Regions from separate parts of the Homo sapiens genome. Here region 2 is linked to region 1. Evidence: promoter capture Hi-C in 16 types of primary human blood cells and fetal thymus (Javierre and others, 2016). All regions are on one chromosome and are shown on one strand. Each heading gives the region's core, a stretch centred on a gene start or on the middle of the fragment in contact. The rest is flanking DNA. Distances are from core to core; before and after follow the strand shown.

The links. Contacts are between HindIII fragments. The CHiCAGO score rates a contact against its expected background, and 5 or more counts as called.
Region 2: a fragment that was not itself captured here is called in contact with the fragment with the promoter of LYZ in region 1 in 1 of 17 cell types (activated CD4 T cells); the score reaches 6.8 in activated CD4 T cells.

What each region holds. Positions count from the first base shown.
Region 1 is chr12:69,346,260-69,351,612 of GRCh38, reverse strand. It overlaps LYZ (lysozyme), which reads right to left and starts at 3,232. Exons shown (of 4, transcript NM_000239.3): 1 at 3,069-3,232; 2 at 1,341-1,505. The coding sequence starts at 3,204. The HindIII fragment of the contact is 11,988 bases long and covers 1-5,353 here.
Region 2 is chr12:67,259,436-67,264,788 of GRCh38, reverse strand. No RefSeq gene overlaps it. Among named protein-coding and RNA genes, the nearest start is that of CAND1, 7.2 kb to the left of the region's middle. The HindIII fragment of the contact is 1,180 bases long and covers 2,291-3,470 here.

The sequences.
Region 1 (5,353 bases), core at 1,983-4,482:
ATACAATTTAATTTTTGCAAAAGCACACAGTATTTACATGTTTGTATGTGGGTTTATATGTGTATGATATAATTTAACATTCATACACATGATTGATATACATTCTGGAAGAATATATACCAGAATTTACCCATGGTTATAAACCTCTGGGTAGTAAGATTATGGGTGTTATTTTTCTTATTTGTATTTTCTAATTTTTATTTAATGACCAAATATTATTATATAATATAAATTTTTTTAATTAACTGGATTTTAGAAATAAGATTAATGTTCTTTATTGGGAATTTTAATATTTAACAATTTAATAATATCAACTTTGCAAGATTTCTGCAATATTTTTGACACTGAGGATTCCACATGGTATTTCTATTTTTATGAGTTCAGTAAAATATTTGTTTCACTCCAAATAAATAAATCCTTAAGTTAATTTGTTATTTACAATAATAATTCTACAGGAACTGTATTTTTTGAAGATGTAAACTAAAGAATTTAGAAATGGAATATCATCATGTTCCTAATTCACTTAAAAGTCTCTCAGCAGTAGCCAGGTACAGTGGCTAACGCCTGTAATTCCAGCACTTAAGGAGGCTGAGGTGGGAAGATTGCTTGAACTCAGGAGTTCAAGACCAGCCTGGGCAACACAGAATTTGCCTGTACTAAAAATTTCAAAAATTTGCCAGGCATGGTGGTGCACACCTGTAGTCCCAGCTACTTGGGAGGCTGTGGTGGGATGATCACTTGAGGCTGCAGTGAGCTGTGATGGTGCCACTGCACTACAGCCTGGGGACAGGGAGACCCTGTCTCAAAATAAAACAAAACAAAACCAAACAAAAAACTCTCAGCAAAAAAAAAAAAAAAAAAAAAAAAAAAAAAAAGGCATAGAAGAAGCAACTATGGCAAAATGTTAACAACTTTTAAAGTGCATAATGGGCATATGGCTGTTTATTATACTAATGTCTCTAATTTTCTATACATTTAGAACATTTCATAAAAAAAAAAGTAAAACAATTGAAAAAGGACCATACAACTAAATTATCCCAAAACCTCCCCAAAGTAAGCAGGAGCAATGGCATTGTTCTGGACAAAGCATCAGTAAGGCCATTGACAGTAAATTAATAGGTCATTCCAGAAACTTCTGTATATTAAAAAACATCAACCTTTTATGATACCACTTCTTTAATTTCTTACTCAGGGAATTATGAGGAAAATAATAATGACTTTCTGGAAGTTGAGATGTAGTTTTTCTAGGTCCCTCATGAACCTTTCAAGGCTTTTTCATTTGTATTGAGTCTCAATTCTTGTAAGTATAACCAGATTGGTCAAATATTAGCTTGTCTTACCACTGCAGGATAAATGACAGGCATTAACTGCTCCTGGGGTTTTGCCATCATTACACCAGTAGCGGCTATTGATCTGAAATATCCCATAATCAGTGCTTCTGTCTCCAGCATTGTAGTTTGTAGCTCGTGTGTTGTAACCACTCTCCCATTTGGCCAAACACATCCCTGAAAAGAACTTATTTTTAGTAATAAACAGCAACACTAAGTGACTTATACTCTATAGCAAAATCAGTTCTACTTAGCTACTTCTATTTTACTGATTTGTTTTATAAGTATAAAGATTTACTTATAAAATATCTTAGCACTTTAGTGTTAAGATAAGGGACTTGTAAGAGAATCCTTTTGTAATGCAAATCATCTTGTAACACCAACGAACAATATAACATACTTTTAAAATATTAAAATACATGTTTGTTCCATTGCTTTTACCCTTCCCGTGCTCCCATCCCTCAGGCAACATTCAGCCAAGAACAGAAAAATCAACAGAGCTGTTGAGTAGATTTTGTAAATTCATAGCAGATACATAGGCTGATGGAAAAATGCTTTTTTTAATCAGAAAAACATAAGGATTTTCTGATAGAAATTTTCTTATAATATCTAAAGGTGAATTTGGATATCAAGTTAGAATCTTGAAAACAAGACTATTCCGTGATTTCATCCCTTCACTCATTCATTCAAAAATAGCTATTGAGGGGAAATGTCTGAATTCAATCTGAAAACTACAGAGATTATTACATCGACAACTATGTACTAAACTATAAAATAACTTTTCCTCATGGCACATCTTGAATTGTGTGGGAGAAAATGAAAGATAGTTAATCAAGTAGAGTAGATAAAAATAATAAAACATTTCATGCTGAGTTTCTGGGATCCTATACAAAGAGTGACTGAAGGGAACTAGGTTCCTACTGCTCTTGTGTAGGGAATTCAATATATTCTTTAAAAACATCACTGTTAAAAATCCCATGTCGGCTGGGTGCAGTGGTTCACACCTGTAATCCTACCACTTTGGGAGGCTGAGGTGGGCAGATCATTTGAGGCCAGGAGTTCAAGACCAGCTTGGCCAACATGGTGAAACCCCATCTGTACTGAAAATACAAAAAATTAGCTGGGTGTGGTGGTACACACCTGTAGTCACAGCTACTCAGAAGGCTGAAGCACGAGAATCACTTGAGCCCAGAAGGCAGAGGTTGCAGTGAGCTGAGATCATGCCACTGCACTCCAGCCTGGGCCACACAGTGAGACTGTCTTTAAAAATAAAATAAAATAAAATAAAAATAAAAATAAAAATCCCACATCACGGCAGGGGACTTGAAGACAAGAAAAATACTGCATCACTCTAGGCTCTCAGAGCCCAAGTTCAAAATGGGAAATAACTGGAGTCACATACCAAGGACTTGAGAGAGCTCTGCCAGGTCCTCAAATGTATCTTTCAGTCAGCTTACATGTGCCATTGAATCTCAGGCACCCAGCAAACTTCCTAGCACTAGAACAGTACAACAGGTCCTGTTTTACTTAGAATGGAATTTTCCCCTGCCATGCCCGTATTCCTTTATCGGGTATCTCTGGTTATAAAGAACCAAACTGATGTTTTTAGCCATTGTAAGTATACAAACCCACAAAGAAATAAAACATCTATTCACTCAAAGCCCCTTCTTCTTCTTCCTTCTCTCCTAGTGTCTGTTCCATACGTAGCTAATTCTCTGGAATTATGGAGAGTAGACTTACAGTTTGCTAGGCTGATTCCCCTGTAGCCATCCATTCCCAATCTTTTCAGAGTTCTGGCCAACTCACACCTTTCAAAGACCTTGCCCTGGACCGTAACAGAAAGGAGGACAAGCCCCAGAACAATGAGAGCCTTCATGTTGACTGCTAGGTCAGAGTGCTAGGCTGACCAGGGTGAGCTGGCCCCAGTATTTAACATCTTTTAACTTCCTTCTTCCCCTTGTGGTTTGGGGGCTCCACCCTTTCAGTTGTGTGGAAAACAGGAACTGTCTATTGATCCACTGACTCTAAAGAGATTTTTTTAATGCTTGAAGAGAGATATGCTGATGTCCTAAGAATTAGTCTACAGGAAAATAATGAAATGGAATTGTTTAAAGTACTGGCTCTGGAAGAATTGGGGCATAGCACTACTTCCAAGACAGGAACTTTCTTCTGTTTGATTATGAATTTGAGCAATTATAAAGAAAAAAATGACTATTTTGTGCAGCTTAAAATGAGCTGTGATTTTTGAGTAACATTCAATTTTGTGAAATTGTTTTGTATGCATTCACTTTTTTATATTTATCTTTTTTACTTAAAATTATTTTACATATCTTTTCCACAAAATGGACATGACACATGTGCCTGTTGTCTTAATGGGTGTATAGTGTGACACCACGTTGCTCAGCTAGTTTCTTACTCTAGACTCTTTTTGTTACTATAGCAAATTTTTTATTATTATAAATCAGTGTTTTACTATTATAAATAAGGTTCATGTGAACAACTTTACCAACTACCTTTTTTTTTTTTTTTTTGAGATGGAGTCTTACTCTGTCACCAGGCTGGAGTGCAGTGGCGCAATCTCAGTTCATTGCAACCTCTGCCTCCCGGGTTCAAGCAATTCTCCTGCCTCAGCCTCCCAGGTAGCTGGGACTACAGGCATGTACCACCATGCCCAGCTAATTTTTGTATTTTTAGTAGAGACAGGGTTTCACCATGTGGCCAGGATGGTCTGGATCTCTTGACCTCGTGATCCGCCCGCCTCGGCCTTCCAAAGTGCTGGGATTACAGGTGTGAGCCACCACATCCGGCCTACTTTACCAACTACTTTTCACAATACTTTGCCTCCCCTTTCCATATTAGAACATAAGGGGTCATTAGAAAGCAACAGCATTTTAAAAATAAAACCTACCCAAACATATATCCAACTAAATGCTACCTTTGAAAATAGCAATCTCAGGAGGCTGTGCACAGCTTTTAAAACAATGCTACCAGAACTCAAAAAGAACTGCACTTCTGTATCTGCCTAAGAGGACAGATTCTGAGCCACACAAAGTGTCATCACTTTGTAGTTACCCTTATTTTTCATCAGTGGCCTCTAAAGATTACCAGATTTGGTTTTAAATGACAGTTCAAGGACCCTGTTCAAAAATCAAGAATAATCTCATTTTTCAGGCTAGGCCTAATTTTGATTCTTCAATAATAAATAGGGCCAGGTGCAGTGGCTCATGCCTGTAATCCCAGCACTTTGGGAGGCTGAGGTGGGTGGATCACCTGAGGTCAGGCGTTCAAGACCAGCCTGGCCAACATGGTGAAACTCCGTCTCTACTAAAAATACAAAATTAGCTGGGCGTGGTGGTGCGCCTATAATTCCAGCTACTTGGGAGGCTGAGGCAGGAGAATTACTTGAACCCGGGAGGCGGAGGTTGTGGTGAACTGAGATCACACCACTGCACTCCAGCCTGGGCAACAGAGTGAGACTCTGTCTCAAAAAAAAAAAAAAAAAAAAGAAAGAAAAAAAAAATGGCCAGCTGCGGTGGCTCATGCCTGTAATCCCAGCACTTTGAAAGCCCAAGGCAGGCTGATCACCTGAGGTCAGGAGTTCGAGACCAGCCTGGCCAGCATGGTGAAACCCCGTCTCTACGAAAAATAGAAAAATTAGTTGGGTGTGGTGGTGGGTGCCTATAATCCCAGCTACCTGGGATGCTGAGGCAGGAGAATCGCTTGAACCGAGGAGGCGGAGGTTGCAGTGAGCCGAGATTGTGCCATTGCACTCCAGCCTGGGAAAGAGAGTGAGACTCTGTCTCAAATAATAATAATAATAATAATAATAATAAATAGTGAGACAGATTTTCAGGACCCAAAGAGACAGAAACCAATTAAAAGAGTTAGTCTTGGCTGGGCGCAGTGGCTCATGCCTGTATTTCCAGCACTATGGGAGGCCGAGGCAGGAGGACTGCTTGAGACCAGGAGTTGGAGACCAGCCTGGGCAACATGGCAAAACCCTATATTTACTAAAAATAAAAAAA
Region 2 (5,353 bases), core at 1,631-4,130, 2.1 Mb after region 1:
CTTAAATACATCATGGATCCAGGCACTGAATGGGAGGCAGTATGGGTGATTTCCAGCTTGGTTGACCCCATGACTGACAAACAGCAGGGACTTGAATGGAAGATGCTTCTTGTTTTGCCCAAGTTGTATTCGGTCTACCAGATTCTGCAACTTATGTCTTCAGATCCTTGGTGAGGAGATATGGATGCTGTCAGAGAAGGCAAATGCCTGCAGTGGATCGAAGAGGTTTTCAAGGAGTTCCATTTCCAGAATGTGGCTTCATCAGAGGACAATGGATCATCAGCTAGTCCCACCACTTAGCTATTCTGGAACTCAGGGTTCCTGTGCCACTCATACCCCAACTTGGAGGGCTGACATCAAAGAGTAAACTGAAGAAATCAAGTAACCTCTCATTTTTCATCTGCACTATGGAAGTGTAACAACTAGACGTGTAACCAGCAAAAGGGTTCGGCCATTTGTTTATAGAAAGGAGTCAAAATAATAATGACATGTGAAAGAAAGAGAGCAAGACTTTACTACTTGTGTTAGCAAGGGGAAGAATGGGTGAAATTTTAAAAAATTTCCACTCTTCCCTTTGTGGAGGGAAGATAGAGATTTTTAAGGAGAGAGGGGTTTGGAATGTAGGAGAGGAAGTGGGTATGAGGTGGCACGGTTTGTTTTAATGACTTATTGTGAATTGTTGTTTTATTTGGTGAAGGCCCTGGTGTCATTTTGGGCTTTAATTAGGTTACAAATTAATTGCAGTCAATTTTATGGTCAATTTTTGTTTTTTCTTGGAGATGGGGTCTCACTCTGTCTCCCAGGCTGGAGTGCAGTGGTGTGATCTTGGCTCAATGCAGTCTTGACCTCCCAGGCTCAGGTGATCCTCTCCTACCTCAGCCTCCCTAGTAGCTAGGACCACAGGCATGCACCATCCAGCACAGCTAACTTTTTGTATTTTTTTTTGGTGGAGATGGGGTTTCACCATGTTGCCCAGACTAGTCTCAAATTTCTGGGCTCAAGCAGTCCTCCCACCTCGGCCTCACGAAGTGCTGGGATAACAGGTGTGAGCCTTTGCATCTGGCCTGTAGTCAGTTTTTAGCTGGGATTGAGTTTCAGCCTTGACTGGGGAGAGAATTTTGGAGGTGTCTGGTTTGTGTTAGGATTTGGCCTTTGACGTTTTAATGGAAATATATGACTAGATATGTCAGTGTGGCATGTACTTAACAAGGATGTAAGTAAATAAATATGCATAACGCATGGGAGTATAGTATGGGAAAGAAGGGGAGTGGCGATTTATAGTACATTTTGAGGCTGTATTTTAAGGCAAAAGGAAGCAGATATATAGTTTGTCTAAAGTTATATTTTGAGATTGGGAGAAGGGAGGAAAGAAAACATTTTGAGGTTGTAAAATACATTTGTAGTTTATTTTCAAGTTATATTTTGAGGCTGGGGAGAAAGTTGGAAAGGAAAAAAAGTTTTAAAATGCAGTTTGAAGTTAAGCTGTTTGGTTGTAATTTTTATTGTCAAATTTTATTTTATTTGTATGGAAAATGGCTGCCATAATTGTTTTGGCTATTTTTTTGTTGAGAAGGGGCATAGTTTGGGGGTATTAGAATGGAATTGATTTATTTGGATTTGGAAATATTTATGAGTATTTGGGCCTATAGACAATATTTATTGGAGTGTTATAGTTTGAGGTTTAGAAAGTTTTGGGGAAAGTCTGTCTTACAGTTTTACATAGAGGGTATAATAGTAGTAAGTTTTATAACACAGGGATATATCTACCCCTGTAGGCCAGGCCAATGTTATAAGTAGTTTTTGTCTCTAACATGGTCCTGACTTGAATTAGAATGTCCCCTATTGATTTAGTGACAATGTAGGGTCGCACATAGATTTAATTTTTTGGTGTATATTTTGTAGGGCTATTTGAGGCATTTTTGAATTTTTTAATTATGTAGGGTTTTTATTGTTAATTGTAATTGGATGTGATGACACGTTGGCTAATATATATATTTAATAGGCTGTAAATAGGGATATGAATATTTATGAAGGTGGCTTTAAGTCTTGTTTAGTTTATGAGGGTGGATTAGTTTAGTTAGTTGTTTTATTTAGAAGGTAGTATTGTACATGGGCTAGGCCTTTTTATGTGATGAAGGCAGAAAAAAGTTTATTAAGAGGCATTTTTATGGAAATAGAAAAGCAAATATTAATGTTGGAAACTATTTGGATGTTAAAGTACTTTTAGTTATAGAGGAGGAAGGCAGTAGTAATTTGACGTTTTCTTTGTCTGTGTTATAAGGAATAAGCTTTAGTTTGTAAAGCCTCAGGAAAGAGGTAGTAGTAATTTTATTGAGTTTAAGTTAGAAAAATAAAAGAAAAAAATTGAAAATATTAGTTTGGAAATTTGTACTCTAGAAAGAATTTAGGATTTAGTTAAAATTATAGAAAATAATAAAAACTCAAAAACAGTGGATAAGACTAGAATTTAATTACAGGTGTATTATAGTTAGGTTTTTTTGAAACTTTTTTTAGTTTTTGTTTTTATTAAAGACAAATTATAATAGGACAAATTTATAGGCAAAATAAGTTTTAGTTTTATTGTATTTGGCTTGTGTATTTGTGTAAAGTCAGTAAGAATAATTATTTGTCATATAGGCTTTTTTAAAAATTGGCTTTGTTGGAACTTTGTTATAGGGAATTTTAGATTAGATCTTTTGAAGTTTTGAGTCCAGTCATGGGTTTATTTGTGTCTTTAAATATTTGTATTAAATGGGCAAATTTTTTCTTTTGAGGTCTCAAGAAAACTTGGGGCTGTGGTTCCTGTTAGAAAGTGACACTTTTTATTTGTTATAGGTTAAGAATTTTGTATAGACACTGTATAGACAAGGTATGAGGTTAGTTTTTTAAGGGGCTTTTATTGGCTTTATAGGTTAATTTTGATATTTTAAAGTAGTTTGTAAGTATGTTTTTTAAATTAAAATTTTGGTAAAATAGTGTTTTTAATTGTGTTATAAAAGAAAATAGATTTTTATTGAATTTATGTAAATAATAATATTGTTATAAATTAAGTATATGTATAAATAGTTTGTAAATTTTGGAGAGATTAGCTAGAGAAAAATATGTCTTAAATTTTCTTTATAGGAGTGTATTTTATCTGACTGTTGAAAGTTGTCAATAGCTAAAAAGAAAAAGTTTTTTGGACTTTGTAAAACAGAAGAATTAACAGTGTTTTAAATAAAAAGTTATAAAAATATTTTTTAATAGTATAGTTTATGTAATTAATTTCTGTTTTGTTTGATATGTATGAACACAGTAGGTTTTATGGGAGTCTTGAATTTTTTTTATTTTACTGGCATAATTTTTAAAGTTATTAGATATTTGTATTTAAGAGTATTTATTAGAGTTTTATAGTTGATTATAAAATTGTTTTGAAAATAATTAAAACAATTGTGGATGACAAAAGTTTTAAAGTAATCATGGTTAAAGCTTGGTTACTTTTGTGGCACATAATAACTTCATATAATTATTATCGATATATATTGAAACAGAATTATAGGAATTTTATATAGTTTTGGAATATATATTGACAATATATTTATGTAAATATAGCTTAAAGAAGAAAGTCAAACACTATTTTATCCTTAACAATCTTTTTGTATAATTTTAATACATTAAATGTTAAATTGATTTTCTTGGACTTTAAGGGACTTAATATTTAAAGAGTCGATTAGATTACAAGAAGGCTTAAAGCCAGGTATGATGGCTTGCCCCTGCAATCTCAGCACTTTCGGAGGCTGAGGTGGGAAGATTGCTTGAGCCCAGGAATTTAAGACCAGCCTGGGAAACATGGGGAAACCGCGTCTCTATAAAAAAATAAAAAAATTAGCCAAGTGTAGTTGTGCACGTCTGTAGTCCCAGCTACTGGGGAGGCTGAGGTGGGAGGATCACTTAAGCCTGGTAGATGGAGGTTGTAGTGAACCATAATTGTGCCACTGGACTCCAGCCTGGGCGACAGAGTGAGACACTGTCTCAAAAAAAAAAGAAAAGAAAAGAAAAGAAAAAAGGCTTAATTTAGAATTTGACTTTGAAAAGTTTGTCAAGTATTCTAGGCTTAAATACTTGATATTATAAAATAAATAAAATTTTAGGTTATTGTCAGTTATTTAGTACAAGTGATAAATAAAAAATAATTAAGACAAAAATCTCTACTCATTGATAGAGGGAGACTGTTTTTTAAATAGGATCCAATAAAAACAGCATGAAGCCAGCATGTCTCTTTTTTTCTTCTTTATTTGTTGCTTATTTAAAAGGCAAATAAAAATCTTTTATTGTTTTTAATATTATATGAAAGTGTTGTTTAAAAGAGAAAGGTAAATTTTACTTTTGTATTTGTGTATTATTAATGTTAAACCCAATTTTTAATAAAACTGTTTAATTATAATGATTGTAAGGTAAAATTTTTATAAAATTTTTATAACTATAATTTTTTGTTAAAAAGTAGATTAATTTTTTGAGAAAACCCTGTTATTTAGACACACGGTCCCATATTTTGGCCCTGGATTAGTATATTTTTATTTTAATGTTTAACCTATGGAGAAACTAAATAATTCCCTTTAAATTTTAGTCAACTTGTTTATGCTTATAGAACTTTTAAAATAAGATGAACTCTTTACAAATTTTTTATATTTATTTAAATTTTTAATTTTGTTTTGTTAAGGTAATTTTTAAAACTCTTTGGATTAGACAAAATTATATTTTTTAACACAAATCATATATACATATATATTATATATATATATATATATATATATATTTTTTTTTTTTTTTCTGAGACAGAGTTTTGCTCTCGCTGCCCAGGCTGGAGTGCAATGGCACATTCTTGGCTCACTGCAATCTCCAGCTCCCAGGTTCAAGCGATTCTCCTGCCTCAGCATCCCGAGTAGCTGGGATTACAGGTGCGCACCACCACACCTGGCTAATTTTGTATTTTTAGTAGAAACGGGGTTTCTCCATGTTGGTCAGGCTGGTCTCAAACTCCCAACCTCAGGTGATTCACCTGCCTCGGCCTTTCAAAGTGCTGGGATTACAGGCATGAACCACTGCGCCCGGCCAAAAAATTGTATTTTTATACCATTTATAACTTTTTACTAAAAGCAGATTTAATTTTTTAAATATATTTTTTGTATATTTTGTATGTAAAACTGTTTTTTAGTAGTTTTAGCTTTTTTTTCAGACAGTCGTGCTCTGTTGCCCAGGCTGGAGTGCAGTGGCACCATCTCCGCTCACTGCAACCTTCACCTTCTGGGTTCAAGCGATTCTCCTGCCTCAGCCTCCTGAGTAGCTGGGATTACAGGCATATGCCACCACACCT